2 separate regions of the Homo sapiens genome follow, and region 1 is linked to region 2. The links are contacts of gene promoters, found by promoter capture Hi-C in blood cells and fetal thymus (Javierre and others, 2016). All regions are on one chromosome and are shown on one strand. The core of a region is centred on a gene start or on the middle of the fragment in contact, and the rest is flanking DNA. Distances in the headings are between cores, read along the strand shown.

Region 1 (5,078 bases), core at 1,332-3,831, 1.2 Mb before region 2:
GTGGCGGGCACCTGTAATCCCAGCTACTGGGGAGGCTGAGGCAGGAGAATGGCTTGAACCCAGGAAGCGGAGGTAGCAGTGAGCCGAGATTGTGCCGCTGCACTCCAGCCTGGGCAACAGAGCAAGACTCCATCTCAAAAAAATAAAATAAAATAAAATAAGCCAATCTAGTAAATCTAAATACTCGCTTGGTAGCAGAGATTAACCATTAATATATAGTTCCGATAAAATGGTTTCTGTCTAGCTTAAAACATTAATAAGGGCAAAACATGATTTTACCAAAAAGAATTAAGTTTACCAGGCACTTCTGGTTGTCTTGAAGCCATTGAAAGACTGGGATCCAGGTGCTTTTTCTATACAGAATTCCGAGCTGAGTCCCTGCCACCTAATAAAATAACAAAGGGCATTTTCTTATGGTGAGCAGCACCAATGCTGTTCTTCTGGCAGGCACACAGAATTGAACGGCTTGTTTACAAGGTTGAAACACACATGCAAGAGCCAGTGGGTGACAAACATGCCAATGAAAAAAGAAGGATAAAGTCAAACGTCTCACCACACCTGTGGCTGATCTTAACACCTGTGAGATGACAGAGCTAAGATGCCATACATGGTGAAAAAGTCACCTTACCACAGTGAAATGATGTGATGACTAAGCGGACAGACAGATGTTAATGAGGAACATGGTCCAGCTGCTGCAAAGTAGCAAAGCTTCCCAGGAAGAGTCCATCCAGAGGTTCTAATAACAACAAACAGCCAGCATTGGAACAGCCCGTCAGAGTCTGCCAAACACTTGTTTATTCCCCACAACAACCTTGCTCATTTCATTTTCTTAACTCACAGCAAGCGGCTAGATACTACAGTAGGGAAATTTGTTCTTTATAGCTAACACTATAAACTATTTACAGCGTTTATCTTGTCTTTTAATCCTTGCAGCAAGATGGCAAAGCAGATATTATTTATCCCAATCCCAATTTTTTTTTTTTTTTTTTTTTGAGACGGAGTCTCACTCTGTCGCCCAGGCTGGAGTGCAGTGGCGCGATCTTGGCTCACTGCAAGCTCCACCTCCCGGGTTCACGCCATTCTCCTGCCTTAGCCTCCCAAGTAGCTGGGACTACAGGCGTCTGCCACCACGCCTGGCTAATTTTTTGTATTTTTAGTAGAGATGGGGTTTCACCGCACTAGCCAGGATGGTCTTGATCTCCTGACCTTGCGATCCGCCCACCTCGGCCTCCCAAAGTGCTAGGATTACAAGCGTGAGCCACCGCGCCCGACCCCAGTTTTTTTTTTAAGCTATCTCTTACAGAAAGGCTATCCCAAATTTAAAGAGAAGGAAACTGGCCGGGTGCGGTGGCTCACGCCTGTAATCCCAGCATTTTGCGAGACCCAGGCGGGCAGATCACTTGAGGTCAGGAGTTCGAGACTAGCCTGGCCAACATGGTGAAACCCCATCTCTACTAAAAATACAAAAATTAGCCGGGCATGGTGGCGGGCGCCTGTAATCCCAGCTACTCGGGAGGCTGAGGCAGGAGAATAGCTTGAACCCGGGAGGCGGAGGTTGCAGTGAGCCGAGATCGAGCCACTGTACTCCAGCCTGGGCGACGGAGTGAGACTCGGTCTCAAAAATAAAAATTAAAAAAATTAAAAAAATGTTAAAAATAATAATAAAGAGAAGGAAACTAAAAATCAGAGGAGTTAAGTAAATTTGTCCACGGTCACAGATAAGTGGTCCGTGCGCAAGGTAGGTAGTTTCATGCCCAGTTTACAGGGGAGTTAAAACGAGGGCCTGAGAAAGTTACTCTTGTTTTTCAGCTTGCTACACCGTCCCTCTATCCCGATAGGACTCAGACAGAGCAAACAAGTTATTGATAGTTCTTCACTAACGAGCATCGCAAAGGCCGAATTCAGCCATCCTCCCAGTCCAGGGAGCATTCCCGCCCCAGACACGTCCCCTTCCCCTTTCCCTTTCCCTGTGCCCCCACCCCCCAGCTCACCGTCCCTCTGCCTCTCCTTCACAATATACAAGACGGTGCCGCCAGGATACGAAAGGCCGGCTGCTTCACCCACCCCTCCAGGCTAAGATTAGGGCCAGGACCCTAGCCGAAGGCGGGGTGTGGGGAGATGAGGTTGAGGACAAGCCGCGGGGGCTCGGGCTGGGCTGGTCCCACGAAGCGGAGGGGAAGCCCGTACGGGAGCTGCAGGGCATTCCCGGAGAGAAGCCCCATTACGGAGACCCCAGAGAGCGGAGCCAGGGAGGCAAGAGGCGACCCAGCCGAGCTCGAAGCCGGGATGAAGGGTTAAGAGGTGCGGGGAGAGGGGAGTGGCTTGGAGGGGCCCCGAGATCGGGCCTCGCCGGAAGCGCCCCTCCTGATCGCCAGAGAACGCAGCCCCAAGGGAGGGCCCAGGCCCGCCATCTGTTCACCTGTGATCCTGCTGCCGCGGGACTGCCTGCGGCCCGGAGTCCGGCACTAAAAAGGTTCCGAGGGCCCACGTCTCCCGAGAGGCTGTGGCGCAGTCTGGACCCAAGCCATTGTGAGAGCGGCGGCGATTTCGAAGGTCCCCAAGACCCACTAGGTAGCAGTACCACCCAGCGGGCAGGCAGCACTGCAGATAAAGCCTCCGGAGACCGCGGGATCTCGCGCGAGACTTGGCCCAGCGGAGCACAGGGCATGCTGGGAGTTGTTGTCCACGATCGCGAGACCCGCCCCCTCCCCATGCCCTTCGCCGCCCAGCGAGTTGTGGAGCCGCAGCTCCGAGTGTGGAATCCGCCAGCCCCGAGAGGAAACGCCACACTTCACCACCACTTCCTCAGCGCGTGTGCTGTGCCTGGGTCCGTGACAAGCTAAGGGAAGACGGAGGTAGCATAGTAAAATGACACCCACAAACCCAAGCCCTCAAGGCTCAAAAAGGGCTGCCAAGTGCGAGCACTTGTCATCCTGTTTTTCCCACTTCACGGAGGTGAAGCTGAGACTGGGAGAGATGAGAAGTCACTTCGATTAGCAAGCGGTGCAGTGAGCACGGACTGTCTCCCAAAACAGCGGGGTTAGGCAGGGTTCGTACTAGTAGCTGAACCAAAAAAGGGAACCGACCTCACCTGCCTCCCCTAGGGAAGGCGATCCTAATATCATTTCTCTTTTACATAAAGGAGAGTGAGGCTTAGAGGCGCCAGCTGAGGTGTCAGTCACATCCTGAAGGAAGACTTCTCTTATCCCTGAAGGGTTCACAAAGAAGGCGAAGCAACGAAGTTACAGCAGAATTTGCAAAAATCTATCCACGTTTCTACCCCAGTCCAAAGCTCGCCATCAAAACTCATCTCAGGAGAGCTATGATTGGTGGTGCAGGGTGAATGTCACATTTAGATTTCAGCATTTGAGGCTTCCAGCCGTACTGGCAGAACTGAGAGGCCTTGCTCATGCGACTTGAAACTTAAGCGCTGTTTCCAGACCAGGGTGCTTGAGTGCACTAAGAATTAAAGTCTTTGATGAATTCTATAATTAGCTTATCAACAGCACAATTACATTGCAGTATAATTGTGTGTATATGTGTGCGTGCGTGTGTGTGTTAAAGGTGTTCCTTTGTTAATTTGGAGCTTTTAAAATATGCCATATTTTTTAACCTCTGTGGAAGCAAAGCTGGCACCTTGCTCTTTATCCACCACAGGAAGGGATGTATATCACCTCTCAGTCAGAAAAGGAAGAAATAGCACTTTGCACCCTTATGTAGATCATAAGGTGGGATCATCTCATTTATTTCTTAGCCACAAATACATGAAAACTTAAGACTTTCCTGGAAGTTACTATTTGATTAAAACAACTTTTTCTGGCTGGGCACGGTGGTTCAGGCCTGTAATCCCAACACTTTCAGAGGCTGAGGCGTTCGAGACCATCCTGGCCAACACGGCGAAACCCCGTCTCTACTAAAATACAAAAATCAGCCAGGCGTAGTGACAGGTGCCTGTAATCCCAGCTATTCTGGAGACTGAGGCAGGAGAATCTCTTGAACCTGGGAGACGGAGGCTGCAGTCTGCCTTGTCCTAGGTACCCCCAGTGACTGCCAAGGCTTCCACGTGTGTAGCACGAGGAGGAAGAACAGGAGAAACGACCTGAGTACAGCAGTCGGGTTCTTTTGGCTCTCCAGAGGGGTGACGCCATGTACGGCTGGCTGTAGGGTACATGGGTTGAGAGACCGCCTGTGGCTCTCAGGGCCCAGCAGGGCTACCTCTTTCCCTTTATATTGTCTCAACTCTTCACCTCCTTTTAGTTCGCGATTCCTCTGTACCCCTGGCTCTGGGTCCCAGCCCCTATTCCTTCTGATTTGTCCCCCTTTCCCTTTGACTACATATATATGCTCCTCTCCTCCCAGATAGTGATGTTTTAGCTACATCTTATTTCTTCCGGCATTGATTCTTTTGAAAAATTTATTTCTGGCTGGGTGTGGTGGCTCATGCCTGTAATCCCAGCACTTTGGGAGGCCTGAGATCACACTACTGCACTCCAGCCTGGGCTACAGAGTGAGACTCCATCTCAAAAAAAAAAAAAACTTTATCCCTGATATTTGTGGTACCAATGTCTGAAGCTGTCATGGTCTTGGTGCATAGCACCTATGTGAGAGCACCTATTTCTTTTCCACAAATAATAGACTGTAAACATTTTTTTTTTTTTTTTTTTTGAGACAAGGTCTCGCTCTGTTGCCCAGGCTGGAATGCAGTGGCGCAATCTCGGCTCACAGTAACCTCTGCCTCCCAGTTTCAAGCGATTCTCCTGCCTCAGTCTACCAAGTAGCTGGGACTACAGGCGCCTGCCACCACGCCCGGCTCCACGCCCGGCTAATTTTTTGGATTTTCAGTAGAGATGGGGTTTCACCGTGTTAGCCAGGATGGTCTCGATCTCCTGACCTCGTGATCCGGCCGGCTGCCTCGGCCTCCCAAAGTGCTGGGATCACAGGCGTGAGCCACCGCACCAGCCAAACTTTTAATCTTAGCAATTTTGTGGGTTTTCCCCTCTAAGTGGGTGTATTTTTGAGGAGGAGCTAATTTTTTTTTCTTTTTTTTTTTTTTTGAGACGGATTCTTGCTCTGTCACC
Region 2 (5,098 bases), core at 523-3,022:
AATAAATAAAATAAAATAAAATAAAAAAGTAGAAAAGAGATCAGAGTTGAAGTGTCATTATCAACATGGCTCTTAGCTGGATATCACATTTAAAAATTAGATAATTTGGGTTTTCATTTGAGATCTGATTTCTTGAGAGTGTGAATCTGACAATCTGAAGTAGAGCTTCATCCTGATATAGTAACAGCTAACCGGATGGAGTGGTCCCCTTTAGATGGGCTGTGCATTGACCACGGTTCTGGGGTAGGATGCAGTGCCCTGGGGGAGTCAACAGGAAGGGGAATGGGTGGATTATATACTTCCAGGTTTACGGGGTAAAGGGGTTACTGGGAATGATTCATTTCCCACCCACGGTGAAGTTCTCTCTGGAGCAGAGTGATTAAGATCATAGATTGTGGGGAAGAACAAAACAAAAACCCCAAACCCATAGATTTGCAACCAAACTACCTGATTTGCCTCTCTGTGCCTCAGTTCTCTCAATTTTAACTTGGGGATAAGCACCTACCGATAAGGACTACGTGAGATAACCCTCATGTAGTAAGAACTATTAACAATGACTGGCACATAATAAGAACTTAATAGATGTTTGCTATCTATTAGGAAACTTAAAAGTTTGCCTGGAAGAGCAGAGGAGGTCAAGTCTAACAATTGCCGCTTTCTTTCCCCAGGTAGGAGGCTAGTAGGAGGGGTGGGGGGGCTGGGGGTGAGGGGGATGGTTAAGTTCCCACGGTGACGGGGCAGATATGGGAACTCAGTCTCCTATTCCCTTCTTCAGTTCTCAGCTCCACCAAAGTACCCTTTTCCTGGATGACAGCTGTCATTTATATGGCGTTGAACTGTGTGCCTAGCGCTGCACAAGTGTTTGCACTTTCTCCTTGAATCCCCACAGCTACCATATAGAATAGGAGCCATTGATATACCCAGGTGAGGAAACAGATGCAGAGATGTGGCTTGGTCAAAACACAGCTGAATTGGCAGAGTCTAGTTTCTTTTTCTTTTTCTTTTCTTTTTTTTTTGACGGAGTCTCGCCCTGTCACCCAGGCTGGAGTGCAGTGGTGCGATCTCGACTCACTGCAAGCTCCGCCTCCTGGGTTCACACCATGCTCCTGCCTCAGCCTCCCGAGTAGCTGGGACTAACAGGCGCCCGCCACCACGCCCGGCTAATTTTTTGTATTTTTAGTAGAGACGGGGTTTCACCGTGTTAGCCAGGATGGTCTCGCTCTCCTGACCTCGTGATCCGCCCGCCTCGGCCTCCCAAAGTGCTGGGATTACAGGCGTGAGCCACCGCGCCCGGCAAGCAGAGTCGGGTTTCAAATTCAGTCAACTTGTCTTCAGGGCTCGGCTCCTAACGCCTGCGCGGGCTGTCAGCTGAACTCAGCGCCGAGCCGTGAGCTTGGCTTTGCCCCTCCAAGCTTGCGCGGAGAACGCGCCGCCTGGGCCGAGACGGGGACCCCGGGACGCTCCCGCCTCCCCTCGGAAAGAGGACGGAGATGCAGATTCTCCCCGAGCGTTGGTTTGGGAGTCTGGACTCTTAGGTCCAGTCCCAGCCCAGTGATTTGTTGGGAGGCCCTGGGCCTCTGGGCTTCAGTTTCTCGGGCTTCCAGGCGGGTCCCGGGGCGGCTAGGAAGGAGCCGCCCAGAGAGGGAGGCGCGCCCGCGCTGCTCGCAAGCAGAACCTTGGAGGCGGCGGCTCCGGGAGCTGGCGGCGCGGCCGGAGCGGCGGACCCGGCGGACCGGGGGGCGGGGCGGACAGGCCTGGGCGGAGCGGGAGGCGGAGGCGCCGCGTAGGCCCGGGAGGCCGGGCCGGCCGGGCTGCGAGCGCCTGCCCCATGCGCCGCCGCCTCTCCGCACGATGTTCCCCTCGCGGAGGAAAGCGGCGCAGCTGCCCTGGGAGGACGGCAGGTGAGCGGCGGCGGTGGGCCCGGGCCCCGTCCTCCCGGGCGCCGCTCCCTTCTCGGCCGCCGGCGGAATCTGGGAACCCGAGGCCATCACGTCTCCATGTCTGCGGGTTTCTGTGAGGGCGTGTGGTTCTCCCTGTGGGTCCCTGGCGCTCTGTTCCGGTTTCTGTCTGTCCCTGTGGGTCTCTGCCTCCCCCGCCCCCTCTCCCTTTCCGCGGCACTCGTCCTTCCCCCAGCACCTTCCCCCCGGCCCGTGGGTCCGTATTTCTCCATTGACTTCCCTTTGTGAGTTTCTGATCCCCTCTTTGCTAGTCTCTCTCGTTATGTGTTTCGTTGTGTCTGTGTTTCTCCACCAGCCTCCCTCTATCTGCATGCGGGTCTCTGACTCCGCTGACCTCTCACCATGGATTTGTGTTTCTCAATTTGTCTCTGATCCCTGAGGACGTGTATTCCGTTTCTCTGGTCTCTGCCTTCCTCATCACATCCATATAGCCTCAGACCCTACCCTTCCTCCTTAACACTTCCCCCCATCCTTCGCAGGCCACCAGCAGAACCCACCAGACAGAAGCTCCGTGCTCTGCCTGGCTGGTCACTGCCTGGCACGTACTAGACACTCCTTATACACGCATTAGTCCATTTCCTGTGCAGCTGTATTGGCCCTACGTGAAAGATGCGAGCTTGGCCCACACCTTAGCTAATTTTGTTTCTCACTAAAGCAGAATGGGGAAAGCGATTTGACTGCCTCCATTCGTGGGGCACTTGAGATGTGTCCCTGTAAGTCTTCTCACAGAACACATGACTGGATCTCCTCCTCGTGAATGACACCTCATTTCCTTCATGTTTCTTAAGTCCGTCAGGTGCCATAAGATTCTGGAATTTAGTGGCCACAACTTGTACTTTTGGGGATTTTTCAGACTTGGTGTTGAAAGGGGAAAACAGGAATATAATAGAAAGCGTGGACTAGCGTTCGACCTGGGCAGGAGTCCTCCGTAATTATGTGAGCAGAGACCCCTGCATCTGTCCGACCGCAGCCTTTCCGTCACTGAGCCAGTTATGACAGTATTGGCTCTGCAGGGCTGTGTGAGGATTAAAGGACCGCACACATGTAAAGAGCATGGCACTGCCTAGCACAACAGGAGGTGCCAGTTGTCTTCCCGTTACCTTTGCAGTTTTGAGGTCCTGTAACCAGAGCAGCTGAGGATTCAAACCTCGTAGTACGAAGGTCTGTATGAGACAAGAAAGGAAAGGTAACAGAGGAGCATTTCTATTTCCTGATCCTTTTCCATAGCTGTTTCCAGAGAAATTTACTGATGTCAATTCTGTGCTTTTGACACAGGGTTGGTGCAAAGATCCACGCAACTGATGCAGGCTAGTGTAGCTATCTAGTGTAGGCTCTGGAGCCAGCCTGCCTGGGTTTGAATCCGCCTTTTACTAGTCTTGGGCAGTGATTGATGAGGGAGACAAAGCCTCTTCTGGACTGCCCCTCAGAGCCAGGGTGGCCTGGGCCTGGGAGCCACTGGGACTGCAAATCTGGTTTGCCACCTGGTGGCACCAGGAACAATTGTTCTCGGTGTCCACTGTCCTGAGGAATTGGGACTCTGGGTTCAATCCAGTTGCTCTGCGGTTTGTGCTCTTAGAGCACAGGATGATGCCCATGGGGATGTGGTCCTCATAGGAGAGGGGAGCAGGGCCGAGGGAATTAGCGTGTGGACGTGCTCGGAGTACCCAGTCCACGCCGTTCCCCTGGATAATAGTCACTGCTTCTTTTCATGAAGGTGGGATATCACCCCATATCCATCTCTCCAGTCTCTACCCTGTCCCCAGAAAAAGCCCAGAGGGCAAGGGAGAATCTGTAGAGGTTCCAGCCTTCCCAGACCACTCTCAGGACTGGGCTGTGCTCCTCCCCAGCTGAATCCACCACCACAGGATAATGGGGGGTAAGTCAGAAGCCCTGGGGGGTTTCCTACCAGGCCACCTCTCAGCTGCGTGTGGAACCTGGGCCTGGCTGCAAGGCTACTGGCTTCCAGGTTGGCGGTCTCTCTAGAAAAAGGGAGGAGTTGGTCTGGCTTTAGCATGTGACTTAAGGCATGCCCTGACTGCCTTACCCCTTTCTGTAACTCACTTGGCAAGCTCTCTGCTGTCTGGCCTGTGCTTGCTGTGCTGGGGCCACAGATAAGAATCTGACACGGCCTGAGAAGCAAGGACACAAGGCATTACAAAAAAGTGGGAAGATGCCGTGGGAATACAAAAGTGGGAGCATTATGGGGGCAGGGGGCAGTGCTGGCCATGACATTGGAGTTCGGCTCTGAAGGATCAACAGGGGTCCTCAGGCAGATAAAGAAGGACATTTCAGGCAGAAGGAGCAGGCTGTGTGAGGGCTGGAGCAGGAAGGAATATAGCAAGTGGAGAAGCTCCGAGGTGCCCAACATGAGAACATGGGGCGAAGGCTTGGGAGCACCTGGAGTTGGGGCCAGGTCATGGAGGGCTTTGACTGTCAGGCCAAAGGGCTTGGCCTTTGTCTGGCAAACAGAGGAGGGTCATTCAGAAGACTGAAGGGGTCTGAGCAGGGCAAGGAACAGATGAGTGAGGAAGGATCAGAGGGGGACTTAGGAGATAGAATTTATTTATTTATTTATTTATTTATGAGATGGAGTCTCGCTCTGTTGCCCAGGCTGGAGTGCAGTGGCGTGATCTCAGCTCACTGCAACCTCCGCCTCCCAGATTCAAGCTATGCTTCTGCCTCAGCCTCCCAAGTAGCTGGGACTATAGGCGCGTACCACCACACCCAGCTAATTTTTGTATTTTTAGTAGAGATGGGGTGTTACCATATTTGCCAGGCTGGTCTTGAGCTCCTGACCTCGTGATGCACCTGCCTCGGCCTCCCAAAGTGCTGGGATTACAGGCGTGAGCCACCACGCCTGGCCAGGAGATAGAATTTATAAGACCTGATAGCTAATCGCTGACTCTTAAGATTGTGAAGTGGATTCCTTTGCAGATTACTTTGGGGAGAAGGTAGGGGGAGTACAGAGGAAGCTTCTCCCTTCATGGATTCCTCAGCTCCTGTCTCAGCATACTCAGGAACTTCCAGAGGAGCGGCAAAGGAATCTGGTGAATTCTGTTTCTTTGTATTTGCTAACCAAAAGGCTGTCTCCTGGCATCACCCCAGTGTCTGTGATGTTCAGCTGTTTTTCCAGTTTCTGA

The links. The method cuts DNA at HindIII sites, captures the fragments that hold promoters and counts their contacts. A CHiCAGO score of 5 or more calls a contact.
Region 1: a contact is called between the fragment with the promoter of KIAA1191 here and the fragment with the promoter of B4GALT7 in region 2, in 1 of 17 cell types (neutrophils). The highest score is 8.6, in neutrophils.

The regions. Positions count from the first base shown.
Region 1 is chr5:176,359,183-176,364,260 of GRCh38, forward strand. KIAA1191 reads right to left here and starts at 2,582. Exons shown (of 9, transcript NM_020444.5): 1 at 2,420-2,582; 2 at 629-736; 3 at 299-385. The coding sequence starts at 326. RefSeq lists an enhancer at 2,338-2,657. The HindIII fragment of the contact is 14,901 bases long and covers 707-5,078 here.
Region 2 is chr5:177,598,360-177,603,457 of GRCh38, forward strand. It overlaps B4GALT7 (beta-1,4-galactosyltransferase 7), which reads left to right and starts at 1,773. Exons shown (of 6, transcript NM_007255.3): 1 at 1,773-1,901. The coding sequence starts at 1,852. RefSeq lists enhancers at 926-1,025, 1,226-1,405 and a silencer at 1,586-2,125. The HindIII fragment of the contact is 3,518 bases long and covers 1,411-4,928 here.